Linked DNA regions of Homo sapiens: region 2 is linked to region 1. Evidence: promoter capture Hi-C in 16 types of primary human blood cells and fetal thymus (Javierre and others, 2016). All regions are on one chromosome and are shown on one strand. The core of a region is centred on a gene start or on the middle of the fragment in contact, and the rest is flanking DNA. Distances in the headings are between cores, read along the strand shown.

Region 1 (5,608 bases), core at 1,539-4,038:
GGAGAATCACTTGAACCTGGGAGGTGGAAGTTGCAGTGAGCTGAGATCTCGCCATTGCACTCCAGCCCGGGCAACAGAGGGAGACTCCGTCTCAAAAAAAAAAAAAAAAATTAGTGCCAGAAAACAAAAGACAAGTACACATGGGAGGGAAGAAGTAAATTCTAGAAAGTATAGACCAGTATTCTTGAAATTGATCATGGCAAAACTCCAGAATACATTACAAAAACAATGTTTTGTAAGTCTTTGAAAGAGGTTTGTCATTCATTTAGCATGAAGTATAATTTCCATTTTGTCTGTGATCAAACTGGCTCATCAGGGACGTGCTGTAGAAACAAGGTGATTGAAGAGAATAAATGATAGGTCATTTATGAAAGCTCTTGACACACAGCAGAGGCACAGTAATTACCAGTTGCTCTCCTTCAGGCATTCATAATAGTCATCAGAGGATGGGCGTGGTGGCTCACACCTGTAATCCCAGCACTTTGGGAGGCTGAGGCGGGTGGATCACCTGAGGTCAGGAGTTTGAGACCAGCCTGGCCAACATGGTGAAACCCCCGTCTCTACTAAAAATACAAAAATAAGCCAGGTGTGGTGGTGGGTGCCTGTAGTCCCAGCTACTCAGGAGGCTGAGGCAGGGGAATCGCTTGAACCCAGGTGGCAGGCTTCAAAACAAGCATATGAAAAGATGTTTAATATCATTGGCCATAAGGGAATTGCAACCCAAAACAACAATGAAGTACCATTACACACCAATCAAGATGGCTACAGTAAAAAAGACTACTAATAATAAGTGTTAGCAAAGATATTAAACATTTGAACTCCTCATACACTGTTGGTAGGAATGTAAAATAGTGCAGTCGCTTTGCGATTCCTCAAAAAGTTAAACATAGCGTTACCATATGACCTAGAAATTCCACTCCCAGGTATGTACCAAGAGAAATGAAAACACACATCCACACAAAAATGCATACATGAATGTTCATAGCAGTGTTCTTCATAATAGCCAAAAAGTATCAACGCTCCAAATGTCCAACTATTGAATGGATAAATAAAATGTGGCATATCCATATAACGGTATATTAGTCAGCCATAAAGTAATGAAGTACTGATACATGTTGCAACATAGAAGAACCTTGAAAACATTATGCCAAGTGAAAGAAGCCAGTCACAAAAGACCATATTGTATGATTCTATTTCTATGAAATGTCTATAGGCAAATCTATAGAAATAGAAAGCAGACAGGTGGTTGCCTAGGGCTTGGGGGAGGGAGTTTGGGGAGAAATATGGAGTGACTACTAATGGATATGGGATTTTGCCTGGTTGACAGAAATGTTCTAAAATCTATTTTGGCAATGGATGCTCAGCTGTGGATATACTAAACGCTATTCAACTGTACATTTTAAAGGGGTGAATTGTATGGTACGTGCCTAACATCTCAATAAAGCTGTTGAAAAATTCTCTTCTCATAGTGCTCATATCTTAGTGGAAAGCAAAAGGATTCAACCTTCTAAGGATCTTTCCAATCTGTCCACTTCTCTTTGTCCAGCACGTTACCATCTCCTCTTTGGATCACCACAAAAGCCTCCCGCCTCTTCTGGCTCCAGTGTGGCCTGCTGTGAATCTCCTCTATAAATCTCCACTTTGCTGCCTTAGAAATCTTTCTGAAGGGCCATTGAGATGCTCCTCCTGCCTCCATCTCACCACGGCTTCCACAGCCTTAAAGGTGAAGTCCAGGCTCTTTCACTCCACTGAAAAGGCCCTGTATGATCTGGTCCCTACTAATCTCTGACTTCATTTCTCACCACTCATCACTTGGGCCACGAACTCTTTCAGTTTTGCAAATCTCTTTGCCCTGTCTCAATTCCAGGCTTTTGCAAAGCCTGATTGTTCTGCCTTTTGGGTCTCAGCTCACATGCCACTTGTTCTGGAAGCTTTTTTCTTAAATACTCCCCGTCTTCACACAGTAGAGCCCTGCCCCCGCAACAGGTGTGTGCCCATTCATTTCCTAGACTTACTGCGTGCCAGGCACCTTTTTTTGTTTGAGACAGGGTCTCGCTCTGCCACCCAGGCTGGAGTGCAGTGATGTTATCGTGGCTCACTGCAGCCTTGACTTCTCAGGCTCAATTGGTCCCCCAGCCTTAGCCTCCCAGGTAGCTGGGACTATAGTGCATGCCACCATGCTCAGCTAATTTTTTTTTTTTTATTTTACTGTAGAGACATGGTTTTACCATGTTGTCCACGCTGGTCTCAAACTCCTGAGCTCAAGCGATTCACCAGGCACCATTCTAAGTGCAACGTTATAAAATTAACTCCTTTAATTTTCACAACAACCATATGATGTAGATACTATTATTATTCTTATTGTACAGATGAGAAAATTGAGGCATAGAGAGGTTAAGTAACTTTCCCAAAGTCACACAGCTGGTGATGGAGCACGGATTTGAACCCAGACAATATGGCTCTAGAATTTGTGCTAACTGCCATGTTCTGTGGCCTGAAATTGCTTAACACATCTTGGCACTTATTATACACTGTAATTGACTCTTTAATTATATCTCCATGTGACTTTTAGTTTATGGGAGGTAGGAATTATGTCTGGCTTTTTCATTATTGTGTTCCCAGCATGAGGCCTAGCCCATAGTTTTTTAATTAAAAAGAAGAATGAACAAACTAATTAATTAATTAAGATAGAGATATGTGAGATGTACAAGAAGAAAGTTATTGGATTTCTAGCTCATAGAAGGACAATGTTCTGATTAATTGATATTATGTTAAAAGTTCTCTAACGTACAGGATACATATTTCTTGAGAAATTATATTCTGGTTAAAGTGCCTTATACACAGTGGATGGTTCATAATTCTTGCTTAGTTTTTTACAACTTTTTATTGTAAATTATGTAAGATTTACAAAAATAGTACAAAGAATTTCTATATCCTCTTTACCTAACTTCTCCAAATGTTAACATATGATATAATAACAGTACAAAGATAAAATTGGGAAGTTAACATTACTACTTAATTCATTGCTATCTCATTTAATTCTCATTATCTGTTTCAATACTGTCCTTTTGTTTTTTGAGACAGAGTCTTGCTCTGTCGCCCAGGCTGGAGTGCAATGGCACGGTCTCGGCTCACTGCAACCTCCGCCTCCTGGGTTCAAGCAATTCTCCTGCCTCAGCCTCCGGAGTAGCTGGAATTACAGGGGCCCGCCACCATGCCTGGCTAATTTTTGTATTTTTAGTAGAGATGGGGTTTCACCGTGTTGCCACACTGGTCTTGAACTGCTGAATCTTGTGATCCGCCCACCTCGGCCTCCCAAAGTGCTGGGATTACAGGCGTGAGCCACTGCATCTGGACTCAATACTGTCCTTTTTATGATCCATGATCCAAACCAGGATTACACATTGCCTTTATTTATTAGCCTGTTTTAAGCTGGGACGATGTCTCAGTTTTTCTTTATCTTTTCCAACCTTGACACCTTTGAAGAGCAGCTGTCAGTTATTTTGTGGAACATCCCTCCATTTGGGTATGTCTGCATTCCTTGCAGACATTAAATTCAGGTTATGCATTTTTGGTAAGGATACCACATAAGGGATGCCATGTCCTTCTCAGTGCATCATATCAGGAAGCACACAATAAGCTTTAATCTTGGTTAAGGCTATATATGCCACATTTCTACATTGTGAAGTTATGACATTTCTCACTGTAATTAATAGGCATCTCATGGAAAAATACTTAGAGACTAAATAAATATCATGTTTCTGGTAATAATTTCATCCATGAATTTTAGCATCCACTGATACGTTCTTGAAAAACAATTTTTACTGTGATCTTTGCCATTGGTGACTTGCTATTTGCATCACTCCTTCTGCATTTATTAATTGGAGTATTACAGTAAGAAAGAACTTTCCTTTCTTCCTCATTTATTTGTTTATTCAATTTTTTATTTAAATAAGTATGGGCTCATGAATATTGCTTTTAATCTGTGAGTGAACATTATTATCTTTTAAACATTTTTGTTGTTCAGATTGTCCCAGATCTAGGAGTCTTACCAAGTTGGCTTGTGTCATTTCAACATGTGTCCATCATTTTTTGAGCACTTCCTTAGTTACTAGCTCCACAAGATGTCCTAAGTTCATTCTGTTCTTCCCTGCCCCAGCCGTATAATCAGCTATCTGTTTAAGTAGACCGGGTTCCTTTTTACTGGAGAATAATATTTAGAAAGAAAGATCTGCAGTGAAATCCCGTCTCTACTAAACACACACACACACACACACACACACACACACACACACACACACACACATTAGCCGGGCGTGGTGGTGGGTGCCTGTAGTCCCAGCTACTGGAGAGGCTGAGGCAGGAGAATGTCGTGAACCCGGGAGGCGGAGCTTGCAGTGAGCCGAGATCACGCCACTGCACTCCAGCCTGGGCGACAGAGCAAGACTCAGGCTCAAAAAAAAAAAAAAAAAAAAGATCTGGGCACTAGATGCTTACTGCTACTGGGGTGTCATTGTTTCCTCCCTCAGTGATCAGGGCTAGGAAATATACGTATGTGTACACTTAAACATGTCTTTACTTATTTCCCTGTCTCTCTATTAAAAACTATGACTTTGCCGGGTGCAGTGGCTCACGCCTTTAATCCCAGCACTTTGGGAGTCCGCGGTGGGCGGATCACGATGACAGCAGTTTGAGATCAGCCTGGCCAGCATAGTGAAACCCTGTCTCTACTAAAAATACAAAAATTAGCCGGGCGTGTTGGCGCACTCCTGTAGTCCCAGCTACTTGGGAGGCTGAGGCAGGAGAATTGCTTGAACTCGGGAGATGGAGGTTGTGGTGAGCTGAGATCTCACCACTACACTCTAGCCTGGGCAAAAGAGAGACTCTGTCTGAAAAAAGAAAAAACAAAAAACAAAAAACAAAAAAAACCTATTATTTTATATTGATACCTCCAGTTCCATTCCAGCTCTCAGGGTTCATTCTATTATTTCCCTTTCTTGTTTTTAATTCCTTTCTCTGACAGTAAAAAATTCGGTGGTTATTATTCACAATGTATTTACTTATTTGTTCAACACTAGATTACACATAAAACAGTTTTAGAATTTCCAACCTACAGCCTTGTGAAAAACAAATTTATTAAATACAGTAAAATTTGTGTGCTCTTTGCGTTTAGAGTACATAGTTAAATAACAGTCCAAAGTTACTTAATTCTTTTTTCTCACCTCTTTTATTGTGGTTATGTTATAAACCTGTAATAAATTGAATGCATTTTTTTTTCTTTTGAGACGGAGTTTCGCTCTTGTTGCCCAGGCTGGAGTGCAATGGCGCGATTTCGGCTCACCGCAACCTCCGCCTCATGGGTTCAAGCGATTCTCCTGCCTCAGCCTCCCGAGTAGCTGGGATTACAAGCATGTACCACCACGCCTAGCTAATTTTGTATTTTCAGTAGAGATGGTGTTTCTCCATGTTCAATGAATATTTTAAAACATAAATAGTATTTGTAAAAATATATTGAAAAACACCATATATATGGAACTGTCTTGCAGACAACTTGAAGGCTTGGAGAAATATCTCCAGGCTAAGTACTCCCAAGCCTGTAGGAGGGTTA
Region 2 (5,498 bases), core at 2,962-5,461, 140 kb after region 1:
CTCATAGCACAAGGTTAAATCCCTTAAATTCTGGTTATTAGATTAAATCTTTATATGATCATACAAGCCCTGAGAGGTAGACCTCTACTAGCTTTGAATGGGCCAAGTAAGATTCTACCCCCAATTATTTGTACTTTATTGACATTCATAGCAATCCTGTGAGATAGGCAAGTCAGGTTATTTGACAGACGAGAAAAAGTGAGCCAAAAAAAGAATTAAGTGGGTCAGGCATGGTGGCTTATGCCTGTAATCATAGCACTTTGGGAGGCTGAAGTGGAAGGATTGCTTGAGGCTAGGAGTTCAAGACCAACCTGGCCAACATAATGAGCTCCCATCTCTATTGTAAATATTTAATACTACATAAAATTTTTAAAAAAATAAAAAAAAGAGTTAAGTGATTTATTCCAGATTATACACTAAACAGCAACGCCTGGACCAAATCAAGTCCACCTGACTCCACATCCTTTTCCATACCCGGCTTTCTGGAATTTCTCCCAGGTGAGGTCCTAGTGCGGAGACACTTGGAATATGGACAGGAAGTAAATGGTATGAGAAATGCGAATTGCCCTTATTAATACCCATTGCACTTTTTAATTAAAAAAAATCTGAATATGGAAAAAACATGGTGCCCAGCTATCCTTGGCTGCTTGGAGACCTGTCTCACACACGGCGCTCATTAGGGCAGCTTGCCCTTACTCTAATTTGGAATGACGACAGTAATTATCTAATGATACATTTTAGAGCCCATTATTATCTTACACAAGCCAATTCCTTACCTGTTATTGGCGCCCTGGTCCCAGGTATGGTGGTTTTGCTCGCGAGCCATCTGAGCTGCTTTTCCACTTGCTTCCTCTTCCATCTCGTGCAGGCTTCCCCATCGAGGGCTTTCCTCCTCGTCTAAGCTGTCGGGCTCCATACCGTTGCCCCGGATTCGATCATCAAACTCAGAATGGCACATAATCTCTTGCGTGAGGCTTTCTGAATCAGATTCCAAGGAGTCTTTTGAAATCCGATGTAAGTCTTCTTTCTTCAAAGGTGGGTGTGTGGACTGGACATTTAAGTTGGTATGAAGGACAGGAGATTGAATAGAGAGCTTGGGAATTAGTTTACGTTTACTCATCTTGAAAAATGCAAAAAATTAACAGGGGATACTCGTGTTGATAGGAGCAGCTGGCTGATATTTAAAGTTGTGGTTCACAAAAGCGTTACCTGAAAAAAAATATATTTATGTTACTCTGCGACCACTAAAATCTCAATACTGTCAACGTTAATCAAATATTTAAATGAGTAAGAGAACCTTGTTATATTATCTGCAGGCTTTTGTATGCACCCTTTTGTGTGTATAAGAAAGGTCTATTAGAAAAACAATTGTTTTTCTCTCTGCAGAAACACATCTGATGTAGCGCTCATAAGCAGCCTGAGTAATCGAATGCAGTTTTATTGATGAAATAAATGGCTGCTTGGAAGTGGATTCCTATTTCTAGCTTCCAAGGGCTTGTTACAGACAAGCCTGGACTAAGACAAATGGTTAATTATGGACAGTACTTTGATAGCCTTATTTCAAATGCCCAAATAACTATGGGCAATATAAATATGGTCCGTAGTTATTCATGGATAGAGTAAAACAGGTTCAGGGGCTATGTTTTGGAAAGTAAAGTAAGAAGAAAGAAGAGTGTAGTTTTCCATAGTTGGAACTGTAAATGGGGAAGCTGTTTTGTTCCTAGACCTATATGGGCTGGCAACATCATTTGGAAAAGACTTTCTGATAGCCAGGTTGTGACTAGATAGGAACATATAATTTAGGTGGACATAAATGGAGATCAACCTCATCCGGTATTTTTTAAAACCCATAATAACGATTAAAACTGTTCAACAATCACGCCTGTAATACCAGCACTTTGGGAGGCCAAGGTGGGCAGATCGCTTAAGTCCAGGAGTTCAAGACCACCCCGGGCAACATGGCAAAACCCCATCTCTACAAAAAAAAAAAAAAAATACAAAAAATTAGTGGGCATGGTGGGATGGGCCTGTAGTCCCAGCTACTCGGGAGACTGCGGTGGGAGGAGGGTCACTCGAGCCGGGCAGGCAGAGGCTGCAGTGAGCTGGAGTGCCACTGCACTCCAGCCTGGGTAACAGAACGTGACCCTATCAGAAAAAATAAATAAAACTGTTCAACAAAAGATTTAGTGGTCTTGTGAATTCTGCCACTGAGCGATCCAAAGCAGAGCCTGGAGGTCTACATTACCGAACGGGATGCTATCCTGGGGAAAGTTGAGTGGGTGGGAGATTGGCCTGAATTACAGCTAAGAGTTAGCTGGAGTCCCTTCCAACTCACTTACGAGTGTGATTCAAGTGAACCTGCACTGTCTGTAAGGGTCATTATAAAGAGCCATGGAAAGGGTGCTTTGAGTTCATGTAGGACCGAACGGACATGATGTTTTTGGATTGTGCTTCCTTTCATCTCTACCTAGCATTTCTATTTTGGTCTATTTTCTATCTCACTGCCTTTATACCCATTTTTTTTTTTTCTGTGAGTCAGGTAACAGAAACCTTTACCATTAGAAATTGCTGTAAAATTTGTCTTAATGGCTTGCTCTTGTTCTTTTGGCAAATCCTAACTTTAATTAAATGACACAACCTTATTACTATTCCTAGGATTGCTTATAATGTTGACCTTGTTGCTAATGTTTGCAAGGAGCATCATCAAATCCTTGGAGGAAAGCACCTTAACAAACAACAGGCAAAAGGGAACGTTCATATGTAAATACACACGAAGTGAGTTTTCTATTGAACTCGAAGTCTGCCCTGTTGGTAGACTAACATATTATTCTCTAATATTACAGACTGGTTTGTTGTATTATTTTGTCTCTTATTTTTAAAATACATATTGCATTCTGCCTTATTATTTTAATTGTTGCTTTTTTAGGATGTGCCAAGAAAGCAGCAAATCTATCAAATACTAACACATTTTAAGTAAAAGAGATTGTTTAACACCGGTTTTACTGGAGGAGCTAAGGTCACTGAATTTGAGATCCTGAAGAGCAAGCTTAAGCGTTATAGTGCAACTTAGAATTACTCTTAAAATAATTCAGTCCCTTGAACTTCTCTTCTTAAATGAAATAGGCTAAGCTTTCTTGGAATGAATAAAAAATAAAACAGTAACCACAGAAGATAATTTTGCTGATGTTAGCAGATTCCTGAAGTTTGCTAAAGTATGCAAAGAGCAAAGCCAAACGCCACAAAAGCTGGGTTTTCTGTGGAGGCCTGATCTTACCAAAACATGGGGTGGAAGAAGGAACAGCTGACAGCTTGAATAAGTTAGAAAGTGGGCGTTTAAATTTCATGAATGTGGCTCCCTCCTCCCGTCCAGTGAAAAAAAAAAAAGGTTGTGCCGCTGAAATTTCTGACCAAGAGAGGTGACTAGTCTCCTGAATAAACAAGACAGCGATAGATCCGATGGCACCTAGGGACTAAGAAGCGGCCAGCTCCCCAGGGATCCCTGCAGTGGGTCTAGTCCACTAGCATGGGACAATCGAACTTTCTCCTGGAGGGGAAAAGGAACCCTGCTTGGGCTCACCAAGATGAATCGTAAAGAAAAAGGAACGAACCCTGGTTTGAAACAGGCCGGAAGCTGCCCAGGGGAGGCGTTCGGTTTTCTACCTTTGCTTGTTCCTGAGGAACAAGGCCTGTCACAAGGGGCGTTTGGAGGTCCAGGAAGTGACAAGTCGGCGGGCCTGGTGCCCGGGACCGGTCCTAATTGACCGGGAACAGGGCTGCTCTGGGTGCCCGGGCGCCGAAGCCTCGCATGGCGGCCCCCCAGCCCCTTGTCGCGGCCTCGCCCCCTTGTCGCTCCCCACTCCGTCCCGAAGGCTCCCGCGCCGGCTCCTCCCCAGCTTGCTTGGGTGGTTTCCTGCCGTCCCCATCCCCAGTAAGCCCTTCCCGTTTCCCTCCCCGGGCGCGCCGCCCACCCCAGATCCGGGAGGCCACCGCCCGTCACCTGCCCGGCGCTCCTCCGCGGCCGCGACCCGGACGGGCCCCGCATCCTCCCGCGCCGCCGCCGCCGCCGCCCGGGCCCCCGCCCGCCCCGGCGCTGCCCTGGAGACCGCAGACAACACAGACGCCGGCGCCACATGGGCGGGGCAGGACCCGACCTAGGATCCCGCGTCCCGAACCGCACCCCCGGCCCTGGCACGGAGGCTGCAAACGGCCGTAATAACGACATCGGGGCAGAGCCGGAGGAGCCCGAACGCCCCGGGAGAGGCTGCCTCGCCGCCCGGACTTCCCAGCGCCGGAGGGCAGAGGCCACCCGGGGGAGGAGATCTTTGCCACAAATAAAACTACTAAAATACGCGAGGAACTGCTACAAATCAAGAAGAAAAGGAACCCAATTAAATAATGGGTAAATGGAAAGGTATTTCACAAACACACGAGAAATCTAAATGGCCAATAAATATCTGTTTATTGAAATGATGCTTTAATTCATTAATAATCAGAAGAAGGCCAATTAAAACCACAGCGGATAATACCACACTCACCATAAGTTGAGTCGAAAAGTCCAAAGTTGAAACGTCTGGCAGCGTCAGGTGCTAGGGAGGACGTAGTGCAAAGAACCGTCACCTTCTGCGGGCGGACGTGAGAACCGATGCAACCAACCATTTTGGAAAATGGTTTGACATTAGCCAGGATATGTATGCCTTGGGATCCAGCAATTTCACTTTTAGGTATTTACCCTAAGAAGTGCGTGCTCCTGTGCATGCAAACTGGAAATAACTGAACTATCCATCAAAAGAATGGTTAATTAGATTATGCTATTGCCTATACTGGCATACTACATAGCACTGTAAATGAATGAAATACAACTATGTGTAACAATATGGAGGCATACTAAAAACACAATTTTGAACAACAACAAAAACCCAGAAAAAGTACATACTGTATGATTTTTGTATATAAAAAACAGGCTAAATTACACTCTACAGTGATTGTGGCTCCATACTTAGTGGAGGAAACTATGAAAAAAAGCAAAAAAGCAATTTTATGGGAAACACTACCCACTTAGTGATTCCCATCAAGTTAGGATTGTGGTCGGTTCTGGCAGGTAGGGAGAAGAATGTTTTTGAGACTGTATTTCCTGACCTTAATGATGGTTATATAGATGTTCATCTTGTAAAAATTCATTAAGCTGTACATTTATGTATGGGTAGAATATTTCACTATCAAAAAAGGTTTCAAAAAAGAATAAAGAAAGGAAGCATTAGGAATTATCTTCACATTAAAACAACAAGTAGATTTGAATAACTACCTTCAAAGATTGGTTTGAGGCCAGGTGCAGTGGCTCACCCTGTAATCCCAGCATTTTGGGAAACCGAGCTGGAGGATTGCTTGAGCCCAAGAGTTCAAGACCAGCCTGGGGAAAATGGCAAAACCTTGTCTCTACGAAAATTTTTAACAATTAGTTGAGCGTAGTGGCGCGTGCCTATAGTCCGAGCTACTTGGAA

The links. The method cuts DNA at HindIII sites, captures the fragments that hold promoters and counts their contacts. A CHiCAGO score of 5 or more calls a contact.
Region 2: the fragment with the promoter of JHY here is called in contact with a fragment that was not itself captured in region 1 in 15 of 17 cell types (M2 macrophages, endothelial precursors, naive CD4 T cells and 12 more); the score reaches 11.8 in M2 macrophages.

Annotation. Positions count from the first base shown.
Region 1 is chr11:123,023,907-123,029,514 of GRCh38, reverse strand. No RefSeq gene overlaps it. Among named protein-coding and RNA genes, the nearest start is that of SNORD14E, 31 kb to the left of the region's middle. The HindIII fragment of the contact is 1,709 bases long and covers 1,934-3,642 here.
Region 2 is chr11:122,881,472-122,886,969 of GRCh38, reverse strand. It overlaps JHY (junctional cadherin complex regulator), which reads right to left and starts at 4,211. Exons shown (of 9, transcript NM_024806.4): 1 at 3,998-4,211; 2 at 777-1,209. The coding sequence starts at 1,120. RefSeq lists a silencer at 3,733-4,092. The HindIII fragment of the contact is 12,251 bases long and covers 3,132-5,498 here.